Linked DNA regions of Homo sapiens: all the other regions are linked to region 4. The links are contacts of gene promoters, found by promoter capture Hi-C in blood cells and fetal thymus (Javierre and others, 2016). All regions are on one chromosome and are shown on one strand. The core of a region is centred on a gene start or on the middle of the fragment in contact, and the rest is flanking DNA. Distances in the headings are between cores, read along the strand shown. Region 1 has its middle 15 kb from the start of SPCS3-AS1. Region 2 has its middle 59 kb from the start of SPCS3-AS1. Region 3 overlaps SPCS3-AS1 (SPCS3 antisense RNA 1). Region 4 holds the start of NEIL3 (nei like DNA glycosylase 3).

What was found. The method cuts DNA at HindIII sites, captures the fragments that hold promoters and counts their contacts. A CHiCAGO score of 5 or more calls a contact.
Region 1: a contact is called between a fragment that was not itself captured here and the fragment with the promoter of NEIL3 in region 4, in 1 of 17 cell types (monocytes). The highest score is 5.3, in monocytes.
Region 2: a fragment that was not itself captured here is called in contact with the fragment with the promoter of NEIL3 in region 4 in 1 of 17 cell types (endothelial precursors); the score reaches 5.4 in endothelial precursors.
Region 3: a fragment that was not itself captured here is called in contact with the fragment with the promoter of NEIL3 in region 4 in 1 of 17 cell types (activated CD4 T cells); the score reaches 6.4 in activated CD4 T cells.

What each region holds. Positions count from the first base shown.
Region 1 is chr4:176,333,675-176,336,915 of GRCh38, forward strand. No RefSeq gene overlaps it. Among named protein-coding and RNA genes, the nearest start is that of SPCS3-AS1, 15 kb to the left of the region's middle. The HindIII fragment of the contact is 4,185 bases long and covers 1-3,241 here.
Region 2 is chr4:176,377,924-176,381,408 of GRCh38, forward strand. It overlaps a transcript of LOC124900817 not described here. Among named protein-coding and RNA genes, the nearest start is that of SPCS3-AS1, 59 kb to the left of the region's middle. RefSeq lists an enhancer at 1-119. The HindIII fragment of the contact is 2,194 bases long and covers 524-2,717 here.
Region 3 is chr4:176,315,426-176,318,743 of GRCh38, forward strand. All of the region lies in intron 1 of SPCS3-AS1 (SPCS3 antisense RNA 1), which reads right to left. Among named protein-coding and RNA genes, the nearest start is that of SPCS3, 2.9 kb to the right of the region's middle. The HindIII fragment of the contact is 4,304 bases long and covers 1-3,318 here.
Region 4 is chr4:177,308,501-177,312,022 of GRCh38, forward strand. NEIL3 (nei like DNA glycosylase 3) reads left to right here and starts at 1,374. Exons shown (of 10, transcript NM_018248.3): 1 at 1,374-1,609. The coding sequence starts at 1,454. RefSeq lists a silencer at 1,255-1,374 and an enhancer at 1,455-1,544. The HindIII fragment of the contact is 15,817 bases long and covers 1-1,992 here.

The DNA.
Region 1 (3,241 bases), core at 204-2,703, 970 kb before region 4:
AAAAAGTTTGGGCACGGTGGCTCACGCCTATAATCCCAGCACTTTGGGAGGCTGAGGGGGATAGATCACGACATCAGGAGTTCAAGACTAGCCTAGCCAACATGGTGAAACCCCATCTCTACTAAAAATACAAAGATTAGCTGGGCATGGTGGCATGTGCCTGTAATCCCAGCTACTGGGGAGGCTGAGGCAGGAGAACTGCTTGAACCTGGACCTGGGAGGCGGAAGTTGCAGTGAACCAAGAGCTCCACTGCACTCCAGCCTGGGCTACAGAGTGAGACTCCATCTCAAAAGAAAACAAAAGTTTATTTCTCGTTTTTACAAGGAACCAATGTGGGTATTGAGGCAGCTTTCCACATGGTGTGACTGAAGGACCCAGGTGTCTTCCAGCTTGTGACTGCCGCCCCAGGGTTGACAAGACCTCACTTGAAGTTGGCAGTCTGGGGTTGAGGAAAAGAGTGGAGAAGGCCCACCTGCTTAATTAGCTTCGCCCAGAGTATCACACCACCAACTCGCATTCCAAGGGTGAAAACGAATTGCACGTCCCTGTGCAGATAAGCAAGGGGCATCTGGGAAGTACAATCTTTAGTTGGGTAATCACTTCTCAGGAACAACTATGTGGTGGATGGGAAGCATAAATCTTTCTCACATAGTCATTCTATCACTTTCTGCTTATGCTCACCAGCTTAAGCTGACCAGCCCCTGTTGTATCCCAGCAGGGAATACCAGTTTATTATAGTCAACATTTATTTATCTTTTTGTGTCTTGTCTGTAGTGCATTAAGGATTTTCTGAAGGTGAGCATATTAGATGTTAAGGGTTAGATTTTAAAGCACTTATCAGGCATGAGTTACCTGATCTAATCTCTAGCCTAATCATCCAGTACTTAATTTTTTTTTCCTGGAACATTATTTCCTTACTTTGCAGCAGCATTTATAGCTCTTGCTGCCCTTGGGAATATATATATACACACACACACACACACACACACACACACACACATATATACATATATATATGTTTCATGTTTGTCAGTTTCATGAGCAAGAAGGCTATGTTTATCTTGTTCATTTTACTATAAGACACTACATATTTACTGAGTAAATTGAATTAAAAGCAAAAAATGTGTGATTAATTTTAGTTATATTGGCTTACACAGGTGTTTTGTCTCATGTAAGGTAGGCATTTCAGGACATTCCATGACAGATTTTCAGAGGATAAATGAACTGGGTTTTTACTGTAAAATGTAATCTATCTCCTAGTAGTATCTCAGTGATAAATGTTTAACATTAATGGTAAAGGGAGGTATATGGAGTAACTTATATTTGAAAAGTATTAGGCTAAGGACATTCATAAGTCCTTGTGAATTAATGTCTTTCACCTTTTTTTTTACATTTGTAATGGAAAAAAGGAAATGTGGAAAAGTTTATGAGATATTTGTATATAGTTTACTGAATAATATAAAGCATGTGCCTTTGTAACTACTACTCAGATCAGCAGTTGGAACAATACTATTACTCCATGCCTCCCTCCCTATACTTCTTCTGGATCACAACCTGTTACCTTTCTGCGGTCTTCAGTTTTGTGTTAGCCATTTTCTTGCCTTGCTTGAAAAGTTTACTACCTCTGTTGCATCCTATCAGCTTTACTGCCATCATGGACAATAGGAACATCTCAGTGGCTTACAAAAACAAATGTGTATTTCTTGCATCAATAGGGGCTTAGGATATACTCCTCACATCTCTTCATTCCAGATTCCACATTGAGAGAAAAGTTCCTTTTGGGATTCCAAAGGGCAGTTAGAACTGTTGGAAACTCTTGGAGCCTCTGATTGAAGGTGATGAGCATCAGTCTACTCCTTTAATTGACTCAAGTATGTCACATGGCAAAGCCAAGGAGTTGAAGGGTTGGGGAGCTAGATTCCATAGGGAAAGAGCACAAGTCACATGGCACTGAGTAATACTCTTACAGGAAAGGAGGAGGGAATTCTTAGAAATGTAATATAAGCTATCACACATTCCTAAGCGATACAGTTTGGTTTGGTTTGGTTATGAACATAAATGTAATCTTACCATAAGAATTTTTGGTCTTGCTGCTTTGGCTTAGCATTAACTTTAAGAGAATCATTTATGTTTTTGTGTGAAGGTGTAGTTCATTTTCATTGTTAGGCAGTAATTCATTGTAATATAGTCATCCATAGTAGGCATCCGGAGTAGGCATAATTTATTTACCTGTTCTGTTGACAGACATGTGCTCTGAATGTTCTTGTACAGGTAGCCTGGTGTATGTGTTTCTCTAGGAAAGGGATCTTCACATTTTGTTGCTTGTGTAGCACATCAAAGATTTTTTTTAAACTTTCTTAAATACTGAAAAATTTTCATCTTGTCATAGAATGTAATTTTTGGCACATTGCAAGTATTAACATTTTAAAGTACCAACTGCACATTACTTTTTTTTGCATTACTTTAAAAATGTATCTAAATGTATCCAGTGGAATATGGTATTTATATGATTTGATAGAATCATTCATTTTCTAATGAACAAATTCTTCCTTAGTGGTCAAAGTTCTTATCATTTCTTTTTCAAATTATATTTACATGCCTCTAGCAAAATTTTGTCCTAATGGGTAATACTCTAGAGAGTGCTATTTTCAAGTCTTTTATTAATAACTGTACCACATTTCTTTGTAACAAAAATGTGCATGTAAATTGAAATTTATCTTTTACAATTTCCTCTGACCCCAATATTCTAAGTTCTAAGGGTGTAAAAGTTATTCTGGAGTAAGTTAATTCTGCAGTTATCAATAGTACACAGTTGATCAAAACAAGAAGTATATTAGAAATGTGATAGATAATCGTAACTCTTGATGAGATGGAATTAGATATGGGAGGGGATAATTTATGTTGCTTTCATTAAGGGAATTATTAAATTATTTCTTTGTCCCCAAGGTTTGATGCCTTGTGGCAGTGCACCATAGCAAGATTCTGGATGAGGTGAGGCTTTCTTTGTGAAAGGGATGATGGAGGGAAAGAACCTCAAGCCTGGGCGCATTACCAGCCAGATCACTTTAGAAGTACGTGTGAGAGCAGAGCTGATTTCCATACAGCTGTCTGTCACCATGCACAAAGTTCCATGTTCCTCCTAATCGAAGACCACTGCTCTAGCATACACACCTAAGATTGGAAATTCCTAAGTCTTATGGAATTCATATCAACATCTTTACTATATATTACCAAACTTTC
Region 2 (3,485 bases), core at 371-2,870, 930 kb before region 4:
TAAATAATCTCCATTTATTCTCACCTGCCTATGACCAGCTGAAGGGAAATCACCTTTAGTTATGTCAAAGTGACATGTTTGTTGAACTGTAACAATAATAATGCTCCCTATTAACCTATCAGGGACTTGAGCCATTTTGCATTCAAACAATGATGAATTTTTATTTTCTTATTTAATTATTTAAAAAATCTCCATCTCAGTTTCCAAAATGTGTAACTAGAAAATAAATGAGAAGCCAGAGAAGACATGCAGAGAATTTAAATTTGCACTTGTGGTAAAATAATCTGCACTTGCGTAGGAGAAGACAAATCACTCCTTGATGTCAATGTACGGTTATGATTTTACTCATACTTTAGAATTTTAAAATGTCATGTAGTGTGATATATATTCATGCAGATGTGGGTGAAACAATGTGCTTTTTAATCATTCCTGCTACAATCACAAACAATCATTATGTCTAGCCATTGATCCTAGCACAGGGCTTGTCAGGTAAGGGCAGATTTTATAAAACCTGGGTAAAACAAGCTTAATTTGCGTAAATTGAGTTTTTTTCTAAAAGTGAGAGGGTACCTTTTTAAAGAAAATGTAGTAAATGCAAAAGTCAATGAATCCTTGGATGTTTCTCAAACTATCTTTGTGTTTTAAATCTACTTTCTCATTTTAATAGGAATTAATCATTTATCCTCAAGGAATATTTTCCTTAAAAGGGAAGAATATTACCAGTTTTTCTCAACAAATCTCGAATTCATTGTGGGGAAACTGATGATGTCTCTTCATTTGTTTTGTGATTCTTGTATTTTAAATCAGTTCATTGAAACAGCCTGGCTGAGTGCTGTATTTAAGTATAGAAATTTCTGCTCATATCTGGTGGCTCTTGCTGAAGGAGGGACATAGAGCTAGAATGCTTGTCAGGGATCCCACCTTAACCTGCTCCTGCCCCTTAGATAGATCCTCATTGTCTACAGGCCATTTGCAACCAGGCGAAATAAAAATTACCATGTTTCTCTTTATTTTATTTATTGAAGATTTTTGACTTTGTATATAATTTACATAGCTTTTAAATACAAAAGCTAGTTTTAAGGAATGTATATTAAACAGTGGTTATTTGCCAGGACAAAAGATACCATACTAGAGAAAAGCTAGGAAAAGAAGAAACATAGTTTCATACTAAACAACTATTTAATAATTTTAAGAAAAACAGTACAGTTTAATATTTGAGAAGGGAAATATGCTATCATTCTGAAAATCTTGTATGCAGAAAACTCTTAGTTTTCTAACCTAATGGTAGTTTCTATACTAGATTTAAAACTTTTTGTACTAGGCCTTTTCCTCAAAAACTTCTGTAAAACCTTAAATGTTTTATTATCAATGCATATATAGGAATGCATATATAGGAATTTACAAAGTAAAAGAAGAGAGCAATACTCATGTCTGTCATTGATTCACACATTGTCCCCTTTAGATGTGACTGAGAGGGTGGTGGCTCACGCCTGTAATCCCAACACTTTGGGAGGCTGAGGCAGGTGGATCACCTGAGGTCAGGAGTTCCAGACCAGCCTGGCCAACATGGCAAAACCCCTTCTCTACTAAAAATACAAAAAATAGCCAGGCATTGTGGCAGACGCCTGTAATCCCAGCTACTTGGGAGGCTGAGGCAGGAGAATCGCTTGAACCTGGGAGGCAGAAGTTGCAGTGAGTGGAGATCATGCCACTGCACTCCAGCCTGGGCAACAGAGCAAGACTCCATCTCAAAAAAAAAAAAAAAAAGAAGAAGTGACTGAGTACTCAGTTATCCAGCTTTTAGGGCAAAGTGATCAAATGATAACAGAAAGGAAGAGGCAAGAGAAGGATTTTACAAATACAAATAGTAATGATGGTCCAGGGACATGATGGAAATCGCAGGATGAAGCAGAGAAGGGAGCTCTGTGTGTTCCCTGGGTGGAGATTGTACTAATGAGCTGCTCACATTTGAGAAACACAGATTGATGAGCTTCTCTGGCAATTGTTATGCAGCAATATTCCCATAAGAAGTCACAGTAGTTATCACAGTATCAGAGCACCGTAAAATAAACACATTGCTTTTTCCATGAACTTGAATATTTAATGTTAGAGATGAGTACAATGGAGGCAAATAAATCCTCTCCTCATTTCCTCACATCCCTACTTTTAAAGATTGTCAGGTATTCAATCTCTATCATAGTTGTTTGAGACTTTAGGTCCCTATAGTTTATCATTTTCCAGTAATGTTTTTGAAATGCAATAATTTAAAGATCTCTCGACTCTTGGATTTACATTACAAATGCTGGTGATACAAAAATTTCATTTAAATTAGTCTAGACCATGAAGTATGGACTTTTAGCATATTATATTGTAAATTTGAAATTGAAACACTGTCATGATCTTTTTTTAAAGAATTTAAAACTAGTATTTAAATATTATAAGTTTTTCTCTGAGAAATGTTTTACAATTGTAGTTTATAGTTCTGAGGACTGAGAGTGTAGGAGATTTGCTTAAAACAAGAATGGAGATCAGAGCTAGGGTGTCTACTATATTCAACATTTTTCAAAATTCGCTCTGCCACCTGTCAAGAGCTGAGCTGAGCTGGAGAGAGCTGAGACGCCCGTGGTGGAGTGGTCAATTAAGACAACAAGCCAAAGTGAAAGTAACAGCCAATCCTTTAATGACTTTCTAAGGTAGTAGAATAGGCAAGAGGAAAAAGCTTAACCATTTTAATGTTCCTTTTTTCTCCACAGAAGGGCACTGGGTGAAGGTCCAATGTATCAGTGCACACGGGGGAGTGGGGCGGGGAATTATCTCACCACCTACGTACGGGAGCCCGAACAAAAGGCTCTGGCCATTTTATGGACCCAGGGGTGGGGATGGGGGTGAGCTGGAGAGGGGAGGACTAGGTGTGGGAAACAGTGAATATTGAGTCAGAGAGAAAAAAGAGGCTTCAAGTGTCCTCCCCAGTGAGGAGGCCTCCGCAGAATGACCCGATGAAGAGACCTCCTCTCTCTGAATGCAGGGAGGGCTAGAGATGCAGATATGCATAAGCGCATGGTGCTGAGGATGGAGTGACTGAGCCCTTGACTGCAGCTCCCTTCAGAGACTGCAGTTTACTGGCTGCACACAGTCTGGTGTGGGGAGGACAATTTTTCCCTGTGAAGCCTGCCAGGTAAATCCTTTGCAATTGTCTGTGGTAGGGTTTGAAAGATGATTATAGGTTTTTGGCTAGGAGCTGGACTCCTCACCACTGTCTCATTTCAGGCCTCCATCACCTCATTTTGGGATTATTAGAGGTGCTTTTATCCATTCTCTCCACTTCTCTGAAGTTTTTTTCCAGCATGATCCATCATGCTCTTGATTGCCAGATTGCTTGCTTCTAAATCACTAGATCACTAAATCACTGTATCGTTCCTCTACTTTGGAATCTAGTATGTATTATTTTTATACCAAACTCGAGCCACTCAGGTGAGCATGTAAGG
Region 3 (3,318 bases), core at 78-2,577, 990 kb before region 4:
CTGGGCACTGAAAGGGATAGAAAAATGAACAAGACCTGATCCCCACTCTCTATGATGAACAACATAATTCATAGTCACTTTCTGAAAACCATTTGAGTCCTTAATGTGCTAGATCTATAACATGCTCCATTGCAGGAACTTCCCTGGGGAGCTTGGTGCTTTGTGGACTCTTTGGATATTCCCAATAACACCATATTTAATTAGAACGTTTTTATTGGCCGGGCGCAGTGGCTCATGCCCATAATCCCGGCACTTTGTGAGGCCTTGGCGGGCGGATCGGCTGAGGTCGGGAGTTCAAGACCAGCCTGGCCAACATGGTGAAACCCTGTCTCCACAAAAAATACAAAAAAATAGCTGGGCGTGGTGGCGGGCGCCTGTAATCCCAGCTACTCGGGAGGCTGAGGCAGGAGAATCACTTGAACCTGGGAGGTGGAGGTTGCAGTGAGCTGAGATCGCGCCATTGCACTCCAGCCTGGGCAACAAGAGCGAAATTCCATCTCAAAAAAAAAAAAGAAGGCTTTTATTATATCTTTCAGTTTATCCCCTTTTTAAAAAGCATTATCTGGCCATGTGCACACAGCTTTATTTAAAGATTTCCTTATAAAGTGATTTATTGTTCTTACCTCTTCTTAGCTTGGTGTTACAGAAGAATAATTATTTGCAAATATGAAGATCAAAACTTTACATTTATTCTAGGTTTCTTTCTATCCTTCAGAAATACAGTTAGGCATGTCTTTCCCAGCTGATCGCTATTTACTCAAGCGCTGACAAAGCATGCCAATCGCTCCCCCCATTACTGCCACTAGGTTCTGAGCTGAAATCATTAAAGAGTACAAGACACTTAGTTTAAAAATGCTACGTATTAATTTAAGGTCTGTAATACTATTTCAGATAAACAGCCTCAGTTTCCTTCAGTACAACCTCAGTGTTTGACTAGTAGTATTTGCATCAAAAAGCATTAAAAATAAAATAACACGTTACAATGTTGAAGACTACCATTCATAATGAAAATGTAACTATTATTAATACTTGCTTACCAAATAATATATCAACAATTTTTGTGAAGGAGAAACTATAGGAGATGTGAGAATAAACAGACAAAACACAGTATTGGAGATTTTAACAAATCTCTCAGAATCCAAGAAAATGAAGGTAACAAATATTACTACAGATGTAAAAGACATAAATAACATAATCAATAAGGCAGATCTCATAGGTATCTATCAAATTCTATATACTATTAAGAGGAAATACCTTCTTTCAAGTTGCACATTGAATTTTCACAAAAGTGACATTTTAGGCCACAAAGAAGACCTCAATAATCCAAAGAATAGAAATATACAAACAGCATTCTCTGCCTACATGATTTAAAATCAGACATTAATTTAAAGCAATCAAAAGGAAAAATGGTACTTTCTCTTGGAAATTCATAGTCAGAAATTTTAGGATACAGCTAAAGCAGTTACCATAACAATAAACATGAAAAATATACCAACTAAATATCCAATTTCCAAAGCTAATAAACAAAAAAAGTGGAATGAAAAAAGTTGATAGTGTTAAAACCAAAAATTAATGAGTTGGAAAACAGTAGAGTTAATTAGTAAATGCAGAAGTGCTTTGAAAGAAAACAAGAAAAAATACTAATTAAAACAATAAATGAAAAAGGTAGAAAGCACAAGTATACATAATTAGAATTAACAATTAATAATTTAAAAAAAATAGAAGAATAGACTCCCTTGGGAATTTCTACCAAATTTTCTATCAAATTTTTAAAGACCAGATCCAAATGCTACTTAAAATATCCCAGTGCACAGAAAACTAAGGAAAACTTATTTTCCTTGTTATATTAGAAATATATATTTTCTAATTTGAGTATAATATTACAATCAAAAAAACACATCAGTTTCACTATGAATATTGATTACACAAACTAAAAAACAAAAAACCCCAAAATTAGCAAAGAAAGCACAAGAGCATATTAAAAACTAATTCATCATGACCAGGTGGAGTTTATTCCAGGAATGCTTACTGGGCCAATATTATAAAATCTATTCATATAACCCATTAAATAAGCAGAGGAAATAAGATAGAGGAAAGAAGTAGAGGAAATAAGATAGGGAAAATGCATCTGAAAACAATTTAGCACTTGTTTATATTTTTAAAAATTTCCCAATAGGAATAGATATTTCCTATCAATATGCAATATATATTATATAATGATACATGTACACACACACACACAATTTCCATCTCAAAGCCAACATCTTACTTGATGGAGAAATGAAAGGAAATTTCCTGCTCAAATCAGGAACAAAAAGATATCAGTTGTCCCCATCTGACTGAATATCATGTTGGAAATATTAGCTACTGAAATGAATAAACAATTGGAAATATAATAATTGGAACGGAAAAGGCAAAATGATATCTAATGTAGGTGATATAAATGTCTAGAAAATCTAAAGAAACACTTGGAAAAATAAAACAGAATAAGAAAATTCCCTATCCCATCCCTCTCCTGCTCTTTTTGTGGACTTTTATGTGTTTTTAGCACTACCAGTAAGTCAAGTTAAAAACTGTGGTGTCATAATAATAATACTAGTTTCATTTGAGTGTTCACAATCTGCATTCACTCTATGCTTTGCAGACCCCCACTCTTATTTAGGCAGTTGCTAAGTAACATAGAGTTTGTTTCCGAAATGCCCCTCCTATCAGTCTTCCTTTTGGGTCCATCACTCACTCTCCACATATAACTGGTAAATGGTTGCCTGTGTAGCGATGCTTGTTTTACATGTAATTTCCCTGATATAAAGTCAACTTCTTGACCTGGTTTTCTACCATAACTTACCTTTCCAGGCTTATTTCTGCTTACTCTTTTATACATGCATTGTTTATCAGGACCAGCCTTCTGAGTATCTCTTAGATATACCTGTACTTGCAGTTCAACAACAAGAATTATTTCCCTAAAACATGCTATAATAATAATGTGTCTTGTTTAGGCTTTGTGTTAAATAATTTGCACACTGTGTTGTCCCACATTACCAGGGCTGTAATTCCTTCCTCCTTTGCTATGTAACTTCCCAGGGTATTTTTTTGTTTTACATTTCAGATTTGTTTTTATTTTATTAACTCTACCTGATTATATACTTTTGAGTGTAGAAAGTGATCAGTACAATCTCTGTATCACTTGCAGTATAGATGGCATTCAATAAAAATCCTTTTTTTTCTTTTTTTGTTAACAAACTGTGCCAGCCTGGAAGTTAAAAACTAAGATTTTAAACGCAACTAAGGATCTCTCTTTAGTCTCTATTTTATCGATTT
Region 4 (3,522 bases), core at 124-2,623:
GAAAGAGGAGAAGGTATATAGGACTTTTCTCCATCAAAGGACAGAGATTATTGAATTGAACAAGGGAGTAAAGTACAAATAGTCCTGAAATTGATCCAGCCAACTTTTGATCACTAATCTCTCCCTGCAAAGGAAAGATTTAATACTTTTCAAAATTTCAATCAAGTCTTCAGTATATTCAAATTCAACTCTCTAGTATACAGATGCTCCTCAACTTACGATGGGGTTATGTCCTGATAAACCCGTTGTAAACTGAAAATACAGTAAGTCGAAAATGCCTTTAATATATCTAACCTACCAAACATCATAGCTTCACGAGGCCCTCCTTAAATGTGTTCAGAACACTTACATTAGCCTACAGTTGGGAAAAATCACCTAACACAAAGCATATTTTATAATAAAGTGTTGAATAATTTATTGACTACTGTACTGAAAATGAAAAACAGAATGGCTATATGAGTACTCAAAGTACAGTTTCTACTGTGTGTCACTTTTGCACCATCATACAGTCAAAACACTGTTACGCTGGGGCATCCTAAGTCAGCAACCACCTGTGTATATGCTCTTGTGGTTTAACGGCAGCACAGTGCTATGCTTATGAAATCACTTAGAAATTGACATTCTGTTTTAATGTGTAGTATTTCAGTTTTCAAAAAAGAATACACTTTATAATTTACAAAACTATATGGAGTCATAAACTTCATAGATTTATATGTATGCATGCATCTTTGGTTAGGGTTGTGGGTAAATTTGAAAAGCTACGCATTACCCTCAAATTTATATAAACCTCTACGTTTAACAAAGCAATTTCATATAGCTTTCATCTTGGGGCGTCCCCTTACAAAATGGATGCATGCACTTAGGTAGGGCTCACTTAACTATCTAATAATGGAGTTTTTAAATATAGACACTAGAATATATTCTGCTGTTTGTTCCAAAAACCCTCTTCTTCGTTTCTCTTATCCCACCCACGTCCGAATATAGCATGCCAAAAACAGAGCCAAAAACAAGATTGTCTGTGACATATCTGTCCTGTCACAGACAAGGACAGATTAAGAGGACCAGATCAGAAAATGTGTGTATACTAAGTAGCTCAAAGACAAGGGCAAAACTTTAACGCAAAGAAAATACATTCAGAGCTTTCCAAGTCCCAATTTCTTCTGCTTTTACAGTTCAGCCTAGTTAGTTGTCCTCCACGCCCCCCGCCCCACGCGCGTTTGCGTTTTCTTAATAAACCCACAGCAAGACCTAGGGCGGGGGTGAACCACAGCGCATGCGCCGTAGGGAGCGACCTCAACAGCTAGGGTGCTGTTTGGGCGGGGCCTGGGCGGGGCCAGACGCGCGCGAGATTTGAATTTCCTCTGCGTGCGGTCAGTGCCCGCGCAGCGTTGAGTTGCACAGCGGTATTCTCACCAGGCCCTGCAATCGGTGGGCCACAGTGCCGGCCACAGAGATGGTGGAAGGACCAGGCTGTACTCTGAATGGAGAGAAGATTCGCGCGCGGGTGCTCCCGGGCCAGGCGGTGACCGGCGTGCGGGGAAGCGCTCTGCGGAGTCTGCAGGGCCGCGCCTTGCGGCTCGCAGCCTCCACGGTTGTGGTCTCCCCGCAGGTGAGCTACTCCTGTAACAGGCCATGCAGTCAGCAGGGGGGAAATGGAATAAAGACCCCATCAGGGTTCCAGGATTTAAAGTGTCATCTCTTTGCTCTGGCCCAGGTTTCCTGGGGTCCCACCTTTCACAGAGTTTATCGTCACTTTACTGTAGGGAGAAGTCGGTCCTAGCGCGCCTGCGCAGGAGAGGAGGGCTAGCGTTCTGGGCTCACGCTGCCGGAGCAAGATGCCCTAGGGGAATCCAGTGAAGGTGTTTTATCCGAGTCACCTTACTTAACTTCTTTATGATACACACATGGTTTCCCATGTCTACAGCTGCATTTTTTACTATTGATATTATCAAATCTCTGCTACCTCTGATATGTTTTCTTCGTCCCATTTTAAGCTTTTAGCATAAAATTCTACTTTCTTGCTTGGCTAATCTGCAATTGGTAAGTATATCACAACTAGTATATAATTCTAAAACTACACGTAGAAAATTTAGCACTAACTTCTCACTCAACTTCATATTGCCATCTAATTAAGGGGCAATGAAACCCAGTTCTGGTTCCCTTAAGTGAATTTATTTCTTTTTAAAGTAAACTAGCACAGCTTCTTGCCACTCAGGCATTCATTGCAGACGATGTGGTATTCATTTGGCCAGAACTTGTACTAAAAATATTCTGATTAAGGCATCATGTTTTAAAAGCCCTCTAGATGTATGGATGATTGTATTTCATGCCTACATGCAATATTGCACTGTATTTCAATTTCTTCTGCAAAGCTTCTTATAGCCTTTGGTCCTGGAAGAAAAAGTTGCCTGCTATGAAATTAGCATATGCTTACAACTTGAAAGAAATGAGGTTCTAAGTCTAAGAAAATATATTTTCAAACTTGGGAAAAAATAAGTTTTACATCTCCTTCCAATTGCCCTTTTGTTTATTTTGACTTGATATGCCAGTAAGTACTCTGTACCTATTTTTTTTTATTATTGTTATAGTGTTTCTAAAATCGTTTCAGGGTACCACAGAGATGGATTTTAGATGGTTTCTTAAGAATATTAATATTTATGAAAATTACTCATTCAATAAAATTTTGAATACTCAAGACACCTGGGGAGCAAAAACAAATACTTCCTCTTTTGGAGCCTATACTTCAGTTGGGAAGACACAAAGACATTCATTAAATAATCACCTAAAGAAATATAAATTAATAAGTTCTGTGAAGGAGAGATACACGATTCTTTAAGGACTTGTAGGAAGACCTGGGAAGGCTTCCCCAGGGAAGTAGCAAAGCTGAGGTGTGGGCCGGGTGCAGTGGCTCATGCCTGTAATCCCAGCACTTTGGGATGCTGAGGTGGGCAGATCGCCTGAGGTTGGGAGTTCAACACCAGCCTGACCAATATGGAGAAATTCCATCCCTACAAAAATAAAAAATTAGTCAGGCATGCTGGTGCATGCCTGTAATCCCAGCTACTCAGGAGGCTGAGGCAGGAGAATCGCTTGAATCCAGGAGGTGGAGGTTGCAGTGAGCTGAGGTCGCGTTATTGCACCCCAGCCTGGGCAACAAGAGCGAAACTCTGTCTCAAAAAAAAAAAAAAAAAAAAAGCTGAGGTGTGCAGGGTGAGTAGAAGCCATGCAGCTCAGGGATTGGAACAGGAAAAAGACTGAAAGAAAGCCAGAGTAGACACTGCCCTCTCATTTAGGAGTCGACTGCAGAAATCCAGGTGACAAATTTGGGGTCAAGTGCTGGTGGTGGAGATGAAGACAAGAGAATCACTATGATGGGAGGGCTAAGCAATGGATATGACATGAATATACTTAGGGATATCATCATTTACATCATTCAACCACAACGTATTTTGTGTTAGGTTTTATGCTAGCTCCTGCGGATACGAAGATGAGTAGGATATGCTTTCTGCTGTGAGAGTCCAA